Linked DNA regions of Homo sapiens: region 2 is linked to region 1. Evidence: promoter capture Hi-C in 16 types of primary human blood cells and fetal thymus (Javierre and others, 2016). All regions are on one chromosome and are shown on one strand. Each heading gives the region's core, a stretch centred on a gene start or on the middle of the fragment in contact. The rest is flanking DNA. Distances are from core to core; before and after follow the strand shown.

What was found. Contacts are between HindIII fragments. The CHiCAGO score rates a contact against its expected background, and 5 or more counts as called.
Region 2: a contact is called between a fragment that was not itself captured here and the fragment with the promoter of LARP4B in region 1, in 1 of 17 cell types (fetal thymus). The highest score is 5.4, in fetal thymus.

What each region holds. Positions count from the first base shown.
Region 1 is chr10:928,294-933,918 of GRCh38, reverse strand. LARP4B (La ribonucleoprotein 4B) reads left to right here and starts at 2,214. Exons shown (of 18, transcript NM_015155.3): 1 at 2,214-2,491. LOC124902363 (keratinocyte proline-rich protein-like) reads right to left here and starts at 1,928. Exons shown (of 2, transcript XM_047426111.1): 1 at 804-1,928. The coding sequence starts at 1,792. The coding sequence ends at 1,088. It overlaps LARP4B-DT (LARP4B divergent transcript), which reads right to left and starts at 893. Exons shown (of 3, transcript NR_120629.1): 1 at 804-893. RefSeq lists silencers at 1,634-1,723, 1,804-2,513, 2,584-2,693, 2,724-2,803, 2,894-3,023. The HindIII fragment of the contact is 3,248 bases long and covers 785-4,032 here.
Region 2 is chr10:373,730-379,354 of GRCh38, reverse strand. The region is part of intron 17 of DIP2C (disco interacting protein 2 homolog C); the gene reads left to right. Among named protein-coding and RNA genes, the nearest start is that of ZMYND11, 240 kb to the right of the region's middle. The HindIII fragment of the contact is 1,463 bases long and covers 2,548-4,010 here.

The DNA of each region.
Region 1 (5,625 bases), core at 965-3,464:
TGAGGTTGCAGTGAGCCGAGATTATGCCACGGCACTCCAGCCGGGGTGACAGAGGGAGAGTCAGTCTCAAAAAAAAAAAAAAGTTTAACCTACCAATTTTGGGGCAGAATTCCTAGACTTATACCACATCAATGGCCCTAGCAATGTTATGAACCAAGAGTAAGCTCCTGTAGGTTATCCGTGGAGGTAAAGGAACCAGGCACCTAAGCAAGGACACTATGGCCTACTGGTCAGGGCAGGTTGTCCAGGTAAGCAAGTTTTCTGAAATATGTACATGCTTTTAATATTAAAGGAAATGTGTCTTATGTCGTTAAATGTTCTTTAAAAACATTACTATGAATATAATTATTTAACTTGCAAATTCCCTTAAAGCTAGGATGCAACAAGGTTTCACAAAGAAGGCACCCAACCTTGATGTCAACAGTCTACCCACTATGGGAAGCCGGAGAGGCTTTCTTCCAAAATGCAGAATTGTCAGCATTTGAACGCTGAGTACGAAAAATTATAAGCACAGGCTGGGTACACCGGCTCCCATCTCTAATCCCAGATTTTGGGGGCCCGAGACAGCACTCTGAGCTCAGAGTGCAGACCTGCATAGAGCAAGACCCTGTATCAAAAAACAAAATTAAAAAAGCAGTTGTAAGCACAGGTACACGGTTAACCATGAATATGGTATCCCTGAAAAGCCGTTTTAATGGGGGAACAAACCTAAAATTTGGAATAATTGATAATATGTGTATATGTAGCCAATCAGAGCAGAAACCAGAAAATCAGGCAGCAAGCTTAAGGGAAACGCAACATACTTTGTTTGGTTTCCTTTTCTTCCATAAACTGATCAGGGGTAGGTAGAGTATGCTGCTATAGTTCGGAGTCGTCACCATCCTCACGGAAACGGCAGGAGTGTGAACACCTCCCTGAGCTACCAAGAGCATCTGACTCGTTGCAACGTGGGCCCGAACCCAGCGCCTCTAGGAAACGTGGGGCCGGGGCCTTTTGGTCCCGGGTGTGGGTTGGGGGTTTGGGGAAGGGCCGGGGCCTTGATCCCAGGTGTGGGGTTGGGGATTCCGGGGCTGAGCCGAGGCCTTGGTTAGGGGTGTGGGGCGGGGGTTCGGGGCAGTGCCGGGGCCTTGGTCCCGGGTGTGGGGTTGGGACTTCGGGGCCGGGACCTTCGTCTCAGGTGTGGGGCGGGAGTTCGGGACAGGGCTGGGGCCTGGGTCCCTGGTGGGGCGTTCGGGGCAGTGCCGGGGCCTTGGTCCCGGGTGTGGGGTGGGAGTTTGGGGCAGGGCCGGGGCCTGGGTCCCGGGTGGGGCGTTCGGGGCAGGGCCGGGGCCTTGGTCCCGGGTGTGGGGTGGGAGTTTGGGGCAGGGCCGGGGCCTGGGTCCCCGGTGGGGCCTTCGGGGCAGGGCCGGGGCCTTGGTCCCGGGTGTGGGGTGGGAGTTCTGGGCAGGGCCGGGGCCTTGGTCCCGGGTGTGGGGTGGGAGTTCTGGGCAGGGCCGGGGCCTTGGTCCCGGGGGTGGGGTGAGGGGTTCGGGGCAGGGCCGGGGCCTTGGTCCCGGGTGTGGGGTGGGAGTTCGGGGCAGGGCCGGGGCCTGGGTCCCGGGTGTGGGGTGAGGTGTTCCGGGCAGGGCCGGGACCTTGATCCCAGCTGTGGGGTGGGAGTTCGGGGAAGGGCCAGGGCGTGTCCTGGGTGGCCAGGGTCGGGGCCTGGGTCCTGGGGGTGGGATGAGGGGTTCGGGGCAGGGCCGGGGCCTTGGTCCAGGGTCTGGGGACAGGCTAGGGCCGGGGTCGCCATCCGTCCTGGGCGGCGGGCAGGGGTCTTTAAGGGGCGCACGCGGTGGCGGAGGACCAGGGCCCAGCCCTCCGGAAGTCAGGGCCCACACGGCCCCCCAGCGTCAGGCGCTCCGGTCGCGCCGGGGACGGCGGGCGGGGCGGGCGGGGCGGGCGGGGCGGACGTGCGGCGTGCGCGGGGCGGGGCGATGTGCGCGCACGCGCCAATCGCAAGGCCGCGAGCAGGGTGTACGCGCGGAGAGGCCAAGAAGGCGGCGGGGCGGGCCGAGCGTCGGGTGCGCCCAATCAGCGCGCCGCAACACCATGACGTGAGGCTCTCCCGGGGCTGAGCGCCAGTCCGCGGGACCGGCGGGTGAGTGCGCGAGTTCAGGGCGCGAGGCGCGGGTCCGCGCGGGGGCGGGACTTCCGCAGGGCCCCGGAAGTGGGAGCTGTGTGTTCTCATGCGAACGGGAAGGAGCGTTGGGGATCTGGAGTCCCGGGGTTGAGACATTTTCGGGCCCGAAAGGGGAAGAATCCGCCGCCGCCGCCGCCGCCAGCTCGCGCCCGCCCTCTCCCCTACCTCCGGCCCGGCCCGGCCCGGCCGCGCCGCCTCTCCCTGCCGTCTCTCTCCTCGCCGTCCCCGCGTGTGGCGCGGCCGCCGGGCCCCGGGGTTGAGGCGAGGAGCCCGCGGGCGGCCGGTCGGGCGGGGCGGCGGCGCTGACAGGTGAGGCACCCTGGGCCGCGGCGGGCCGTCCCTCCCGGCCCAGCTCGGACCCGCGCCGCGCCGCCTGTCACTGCGCCGCCATCTTCCCGGAGGACGCGGCCGCGGCGGGCAGGGCCGGGCCTGGGCCGGGGCCGGGGCCGGGGCAGGGGAAGGCCGGGGCCGGGTTGAGGAGGACCGGGGCTAGGGCACGGGAAGGGCCAGGGCTGAGGAGGACCGGGGTCAGGGCCAGGAAAAAGCCGGGGCTGAGGAGGACCGGGGCCGGGGCAGGGGAAAACTGGGGCTGAGGATGGCCGAGGCCGGGGCAGGGGAAGGCCGGGGCCGGGGCTTAGGAGGACCCGTTGAGGCGAGGCGGGAGTCGACGGAGCTGGGTGCCCGGAAGACCGGGCCGGGGTCAGGGTCGGGAGGCCGGGGTTGGGCGAAGGCCGGCGAGGACGGGGGTCGGGCAGGGCCTGGGCGGGGCCGGGGTCGCGGGCCGCGAGCGCCCCCAGGCCGGGCGGGCGCCGGCACCCGCAGTGCGGCGCCAGCCTTGCCACTCGCTCCTCGGTCCCGCCGGAGCCCGGATAGGCGGCCGTGCGGGTGCGGGGCGGGACGGGTCATCAGGGCATCGCATTCCTTTAGAACCAGGAAGTTGGGATCCTGTTGCTCGGTGTGTGTTTGGAACGCTCCTGTTTTCCTGTTGATAGACTTGAGCAGAGGTGGATCTGAAGGAGTTAAAAAAATAAAGTCAGATGTGAAGATTGCCTGTGTTGGTCTTGGGGCTGGGATACATGGGCGGCAGAGAAGCCATCGGAAAGCTGCTGCACCTGCCTCTCAGGGTGCGCTTGGGAACGTGAAGAGTCTTTCCGTTTCAGTGCCGTTGTGCGTCGAAACTTCATGCGAATGTAATTTTGCTTTTCCCCTTATTTTTACGTAAAACGTTCTTAAAACTTGGCTGAGATGAAACTTGAGAAACCTAGCTGTAGAAAACTACCTCCTATCTGGCTTTCGTTTGAGATTCTCTAAGTGGATGCCCAATAACTTGTCTTAATAGTAAATTGGAAGTTTGAAGTTTTGGATAACTGAGAAAACAGGAAGGTTTTCCTTGACAGGGCAGTGGAGTTTGTAAGTATAAACAGTATGCGTGAGGCCTTTTTCTAGAGATGAGAGCAACTCCAAGGTGAACATTGAAGGGGACAGACAAGTTATTTTCCCTTTCGAAAGTTTTTTTCTCTTAGTTTCAGTTGTTTGAATATTTAAATGCACTTGAAATAGGTGCTGAGTTGTAGTTTGTGAAGACCACAGTGGGGAAGAGTGGTGTCCTCTTTTTTCTTGGTGGTCAGGTGGTGTGTGCAGTGTGCAATTTCCATACTTCCCCAACCTGCCTGGCGCCCCTCATTACAGTCAGGGTAATTTACAGAAGTTGAAATCGTTGTGGCTTTTCAGTTTTTTCTCCTTGTATTTAATATGCTGAAAGGCAGTTTTGTAATCAAACCATATAAGAAATAGCTTAATTGAGGTTTGCTAAGTGAAATGCGTTCCGAAAGGCATCAGATTAACAAGCTTATTATTTAATCATAAATTTAATTTGTGTACTTATCTTTGAAACTTGCATTGGTTAGAAATAAATTTTATCCGGTATTTTGAAAAGTTAATGTGAGTTGAGTTGACTTATTTATATGAAACAAAGGCATGGCTTATTCATTAGAAGTTACCCTCGTGTTGCCTACATTTTCTCAATTGTAACAGGGGGATGATGATAATCTCATTTTCTTAGGACTGTTGTAACACAAACATGGAAATGTTGTCTGGTTTTGCTATTTTCACTATTACTGATTTTTTTCTTCCCCCCCCGAGTTGGAGTCTTGTTCTGTCACCCAGGATGGAGTGCAGTGACACGATCTCAACTCACTACAACCTCCACCTCCTAGGTCTTCAAGTTATTCTCCTGCCTCAGCCCCCCGAGTAGCTGGGATTTACAGGCACATGCCACCACACCTGGCTAATTTTTGTATTTTTAGTAGAGACGGGGTTTCAGCATGTTGCCCAGGCTGGTCTCGAACTCCTGGCCTCAAGTGATCCACCTGCCTTGGCCTCTCAAAGTGTTGGGATTACAGGAGTGAGCCACTGCGCCCAGCTTACTGAATTTTTAAAATATTCTACCTTGTAGCTGTCAATCTATTAGCAGAAAGTTTTGTTTTTGTTTTTGTTTTTTTGTTTTGTTTTTTTTGGCTTGTTTACACATGTATCTGGGCAGAGAAAACAGCTTCTGAGCACAGAATGCATATTTGGAGAAAGCAGTTCCACTCTTTTTGAGTAGGAACCAGACAGAAAAAAAGATAACATGGGTACTATTCTGTAGAAGAGTAGCTGAAATTAAGTGGCAGCAAATTCAGGGAGAAATGTAATTTGGTTTAATGTTCGGGAAGATTGCCATTTTTAAAAGTGAGATTTAAAGAATTTATTGAATTTAATGCAATTTCCATAAGTAAGCACAAGTTTTGACAAGTATATATTTAAGGTGTTTTTATGAAGCAGTCTTCACATTATCTTAAAATGTAGTTCTAAAATACGTGCAGGCTGGGTGAGGTGGCTCATTCCTGTAATCCCAGCACTTTGGGAGGCCTAGGTGAGTTTAGGAGCCCAGGAGTTCACCAGCCTGGGCAACATAGAGAGACCTCATCTCTACCAAAAAATCAAAAAATTAGCCAGGCATGGTGGCTCACACCTGTAGTCCAGCTGTTGGAGAAGCTGAAGTGGGAAGATCGCTTGAGCTTGGGAGGTTGAGGCTGCAGTGAGCCATGATCCTGCCACTGCACTCCATCCTGGACAACAGTGAGACCTTGTCTCCCCCCACCCCCAAAACATGCAAATTGGGACATCAAATTGTTAATGGTGTTTACAATGAACAGTGCCTTCAGGTAGCTGCAGCTACTCTACATAGATTTGCAAGTTTTTGTAGTGATAGGCTATGGTAGATGTTACCAGCCAAGGAGTGGCTGACAAACTCCTTTCACTGTTATTTCATTGTCATGTTAAAATTCATATTTTCCGTCAAAATAGTGATAGCTAGGATTATAATCTAGGTCTTCTAATCTTAGTAACGTGTTGTCTATGTTAGGGCCTCTCAAAGTTGTAAAAAAGCTGTATAGATGTGT
Region 2 (5,625 bases), core at 2,030-4,529, 560 kb after region 1:
GATCAATGGAACCTCCAGTATCCCGCTTGATAAATACGCAGGATGCACGGGCACTTCCGGGAGCAGCAGCAGCCCTAGTGATGGGGAAGGGGTTGGGGTGGGGTAGCGGGGCAGGGCGTACAGAAGCCAGCAGCAGCTGTCAGGGGTTGTGGGGGGGGGGGGGGGGGGCGTGGCACTCGGGAGCCAGCAGCAGCCCTGGCGATGGGTATGTGGGAGCAGGCTGGCGCCTGGGCCGCAGGTGCTGTGCCCTCTGTCAGGTTGCCCAGCGCTGCAGGCAGGTCACTGCCAGAGCTTATGCCATTGGTTCTCCCCTCACAGAAAGGCCAGTCTCCAAAAAAGAATGACCAGCACTCATTTTAGGGAGGTTGAGAGTCTTTAAAAACATGAGTCGGAGACTTTGAAGGGACAAGGGCTGGTGACTCGCCTGTCCTCACGCATGTCTGTGTCCGTGTCTTTATGCATGTCTGTGTTCACGTGTGTCTAGGCATGTCTGTTCACATGTGTCTATGCATGTCTGTTCACATCTGTGCATGTCTGTTCATTTGTGTCTTTATGCATGTCCATGGGTGTCTAGGCATGTGTGTTCACGTGTCTAGGCATGTGTTCACATGTGTCTTTATGCATGTCTGTTCACGTGTCTGTGCATATCTGTTCATGTGTGTATGCATGTCTGTTCATGTGTGCCTAGGCATATCTGTTCATGTGTGTCTTTATGCATGTCTGTGTTCGTGTGTCTTTATGCATGTCTGTTCATGTGTGTCTATGTCTGCGTTCACATGTCTGCATGTTTGTGTTCACGTGTCTGCATGTGTTCACATGTGTCTTTGTGCATGTGTGTTCACGTGTCTTTATGCATGTCTGTGTTCACATGTATGCATGTCTTTGTCTAGGCATGTTTGTGTTCACGTGTCTTTATGCATGCCTGTTCATGCATGCATGCCTTCATGTCTGTCTTCACCTGTGTATGCCTGTTTTCGTGTTTGTGTTGATGTGTGTGCCTTCATGTGTGTCTGTTTTCACCTTCGTGTTCATGTGTGTCAGCCAAGTGGTGGCAGGAAATCACGTTCTCTAGTGAAGTCTGCTCAGTCTTGCTACGTGAACTGTATTTTCACCTAGGCATTTAAAGTATTTTTTTCTCTTTAAAACTGTCACTGTCCTGTTATATTTTGTGTTTTCTTTTCTCCCGATGTTAGTTTTAGAGTAGAAAAATATTGGGGAAATAGGGGCTTGTGGTGCCTAAACTCATCAGACATTTTTTAAAGGACAAATTGCAAGGCGAAAACCAGGAAACTGTTTCCTGGCTACAAGTATCCCCTAAATCTCCTGCCATCTGACTCTGTTACCATCTCTAGAATGTAGATGATAGACTTGATTTTCTTAAAGCTACGTTGTGAAATGTTTATTGAACTGAAAAACATAATTTTTAGCTTTGTAACTACAAAGTACTATTTGGATACCCTGATATTTTAGTAATGAAAATGCAAAAATCATATAAAACAATGAAACAATAATTCCAGAAAAGATAAAATACCCCCTTGTCACCACAACCATCTTCTAGTTTTTGAAAGTATCCAAGCTCGAAGTTAGCTGGGAGAAAAATCAAAGAAGACGTGTCCGCAGGGAGAAGGGTGCTGTCTGATGCCCACTGGGTGCTGATGGTGCCTGGATGAGTGACAGCGGAGAAAACGTCAGCACAGCCCTGAGCCAAAGTGGATCCGAAGTGAGCACTTCCCACTGCTCGGAAAAGTCAGACCCAGAGTTCCATAATCCCGCATGTAAGAGAACGCAAGATAAACTGTGTCATTTTATCTAAAAAGAGGGATAAAATTTTGCAATTCTCTAACTACAGAGTAGTTTCGAGATGAAAATCACGTGACCCAGACCATGAGAGTTAGGTAGCATCGAATAGCAAACCAAGTTTCCTGTTTAATTTCACCCAACCACGTGCGTTTTACAGTGTGTTCTGTTTTGTGGTGAATTAGATGATGAGAAGTTGGTTTTGGCAAAGGAGGTGCAGCGGGAAGATGGCAGAGGAGGGGCCTCCCCACGGGGTCCCCCCCAGTTCCAGCCCATAACCTCCCCTGGAAATAGAAAGGTGGCCAAGGCTTATGAGAAAGAGTTTGTAAAAAAGTTTATATAGTGTGATCCCGTTTTTGGTAACAAAAAATTAAGTATCTGTAAATAGTATATTCAGTGCAAAAAAAAAAAAAAAACTGCGCTGCACAGGGTGGGTGAGGCAGTAAAGATGGGCAGCTCACTTTCCGTGCTGTGCAGCTTGTAAAATGGGCTGTTTTTAGTGGGCATGCATTGCTCCTGTTAGAGAAAAGGAAGAATATTACATTAAATCAACTCATAACTTAATATATTGGCTGCTTTTACATTGTATCTTTTCCTATTAAAAATCGCAATCTCACTTATCTGTTGTGTTTTTGAAAGTCTGTGTCACGCTAAACATCGAAAAAGGTACATGCACATTTTTCACTGAATTTCCCCTCGCGGTGCGTGTTTCCTGAAAATATTATTTCTGCTGAAATGAGTTCACAAGCTTAACTGCTCCTGTCCTTTAAAGGGCATTTTTACCAGTACTGTGAATTTATTAGTTCATTCTGCTGCTGTGAAAAAGAGTGGCCCAGAGAGGAAAGAAAGCAGAGGAGATGTTCTGTGTTCTGTGTGCGTTGTGTGGCTGCCCCGGCACCTTCATCAGGGCTGATTTACGTCCATCTAAAAGAGAAACCTTTGGTGGTGAATGGTGATTCAAGACCAGAGTAGCTGCCCTGTTTAAAAAAAAAAAAAAAAAGACACTTCCTCGGGGTTCTGGCTGCCAGTTCAGAAGGGAAGACCCCCCCTCCCAACCCCACTCTCAAACAGGCTTCCTGGTAACTTCGCATTTTGTCTGGAACCGGAATGCGTGTTCCCAAAGAAGCAACGTTGTGCAGGTGCTTCGACGCCAGCACAGGGAACGTCGTGTGTGGGATGAGCACCACCTCATTCTTGCTCTGTGCCGGCTCCGTCGGGGGCCGAGGTGGGCCTGGGTCCTTCTCCCTGCCGGCTCCGTCGGGGGCCGAGGTGGGCCTGGGTCCTTCTCCCTGCCGGCTCTGTCGGGGGCCGAGGTCGGCCTGGGTCCCCATCTCGCTGCTCTCGCGCCTGCTTTGTCATGTGGGCAGGGCTTCACCTTGAGGATTCCTCGTCTGTAGATGAGAATCACAGCAGTTAGCTACGTCAGAGGCCCGTGTGAGCATTGAGTGGGTTCATACACACACAGAGCTTGAAAGCACGCCTGGTACATAGTAAGAATTCAACAAATGTTACCGCCGTTACATGACTGCAGGCGTGTTTTGTGTGTGGTCCGTTGCATAGAAATGCTGTGTAAAGATTGCTGGGGAGGAGGGGCCTGCAGCTTAACTCTTTCTTCTCTAAATGTGCCGTTGTTGCTAAGCTGAGGAATACTACATTGGAGATCGCCCGTATAAGATAAAAAAAATGAAAGACCTTGTTGACTCACTTGCTTAAGGGATTCAGCAAATGATGAGCGGCACTGAAGCTGTGCAGGTGCAGTGTGGCTCTCTGTTAAGCCCTAGAACTGGAGGCTGTGAGGCTTGTTCACTACTTGATGTGTTTGTTTTGTGTGAATGTCCCAAGCCTGGCCTGGCTCTGCTTGTGGTCAGGAGTAGCAAACTGCAGATGTGTTCATGAAATTTATAGGAGCTGCTACTTCAAGGTGTTATGCGGGCAAGGCTTATGGAATGCTTTCCAGAGGCTGGAAATGCTATGACAAGTCAGTGGTGCAAATGGTTCAATGGAAGCCATAGTGTACATTCCTCGTGAGGCCACATTGCAAGGTCTGGCCTGCTTCTTTCCTTTTTGTTGGTGTGTTTGCATTGTTATAAAGGAATGTGTGAGACTGGGTAATCTATAAGGAAAAGAGGTTTATTTTGGCTCACAGTTCTGTAGGCTGTAAGAGAAGCATGGCTCCAGCATCTACTCAGCTCCTGGTGAGGCCTCAGGAAGCTTATGATCATGGCAGAAGGCAAAGTGGGAGCCTGCATGTCACATGGTGAGAGATTGAGCGAGCAAGAGAGAGAGAGAGGAGGTGCCCAGCTCTATTCTAAACAACTAGATCCCACGTGAACTCATAAAGTGAGAACTCTCGTGTTACTGCGAGAACAGGCCCACCTGCATTGTTGGACGTCACATTTCAACGTGAGATCTGCAGGCAACAAAACATCCAGACTCTGTTGTCCTTTAGTTTTATTTTGTTTCCCTTTTGCACGTCATCGTGGTATTGTATACACAGGTACGTATTTTGCTCCTTCCATATCTCCAAGAGAGGACTCTGCCTCCTTACATTCCTGGAGATCACTGAGATGGTCCCTCCTGGAATCCATATTCTTCATGAGACACACAAAGCTGTTTGGTCTTGAACACCATTTCACATGGGAACTGAGTTTGGAAGTTGATGAATGGGCGGATACCTTTATTAGCCATTTTTTAATGTACTGATATTGATTATTAAGGTGGATGTTTTTTAAACCCCCTCGAATTCTGCCTATGGGGACTGTTTCTTCCCTTCCTCACCTCATCTACCTACTTGGGATTTTTACTTCTTAGCAAGGTGTTGATGGAGATAAATATCATCTAAGTTTCTCAATAATACAGGGAACACAAATTGGACCAACAAATGGTGTTTTACTGAACAAATTGGGAAGCATTTTAAGTGTTGGCAAGAGTGCAGAGATGGGCACTGCTGAGCAGCTTGGCGCTGTGGTCAGATGCACAGATTCTGAAGCCAGACTGAGATTGGCGCTGGCTCCACTCCACAGCAGTGGCTTTGGGTAGCACTCAGCCCTCCTCGCCCCTGCCCCTGTCTGCTAAACAGGGAGGGTCATGGTGCTGCACCCATCTCCACAGGGTTGCTGTGCAGAATAGGTCATTAAATATATAACCACAACACAATACAGCCAGTGTGAGGTGCTTTTCTAGTAGATGAGAAAATAATACTCCTGTTCTGTTAGTGGGAATGCAAAGTATGTTATTTTGGGAGGATATTTAGGTCTTCTTAAAAATTTAAGTATATGTGCTTTGTGATGCTCCATTTTCTTTCTAGGTATGTATATTACAGATACATTTCCAGCTGTATAAAAATTGAATGAAAGAAAATATATGATCTTATATTTGTATTACTAAACACTGTGTGTAACAAACCAGCTGAATTCAGTGGTGCACACACCTACACAGATGCACACCCACACACAGACACATGGAAAGATCTGCAGATATGTTTAGTGAAGAGAGTGAGTTTTAGAATGTTGGGGTGATCAGATCCAACACCAGGTTGTTGGGGTGACAAAGTATGGTGGAGTCAAAGGAATGAGAAAAGACAGTTTGAGAGAGAAATTGGATCCGGGGGGCTATTGCGAGTATGGAGGCTGCGAAGGCCCTGAGCTCTGGAAGCCCAGACTATTTATTGGTGATCAAACAAAGAAACAGGTGTTGAGAATGTGGGGCTTGAAAGGGCAAGCGCATGATCTTACAGCTGTGACGGTTTAGCATTTTCTTTGAAGCATGTGGAACATATTCTGCTTGAGATAATGGAGAGCAGGTTCTTTTAACTCAGGATACAATCGA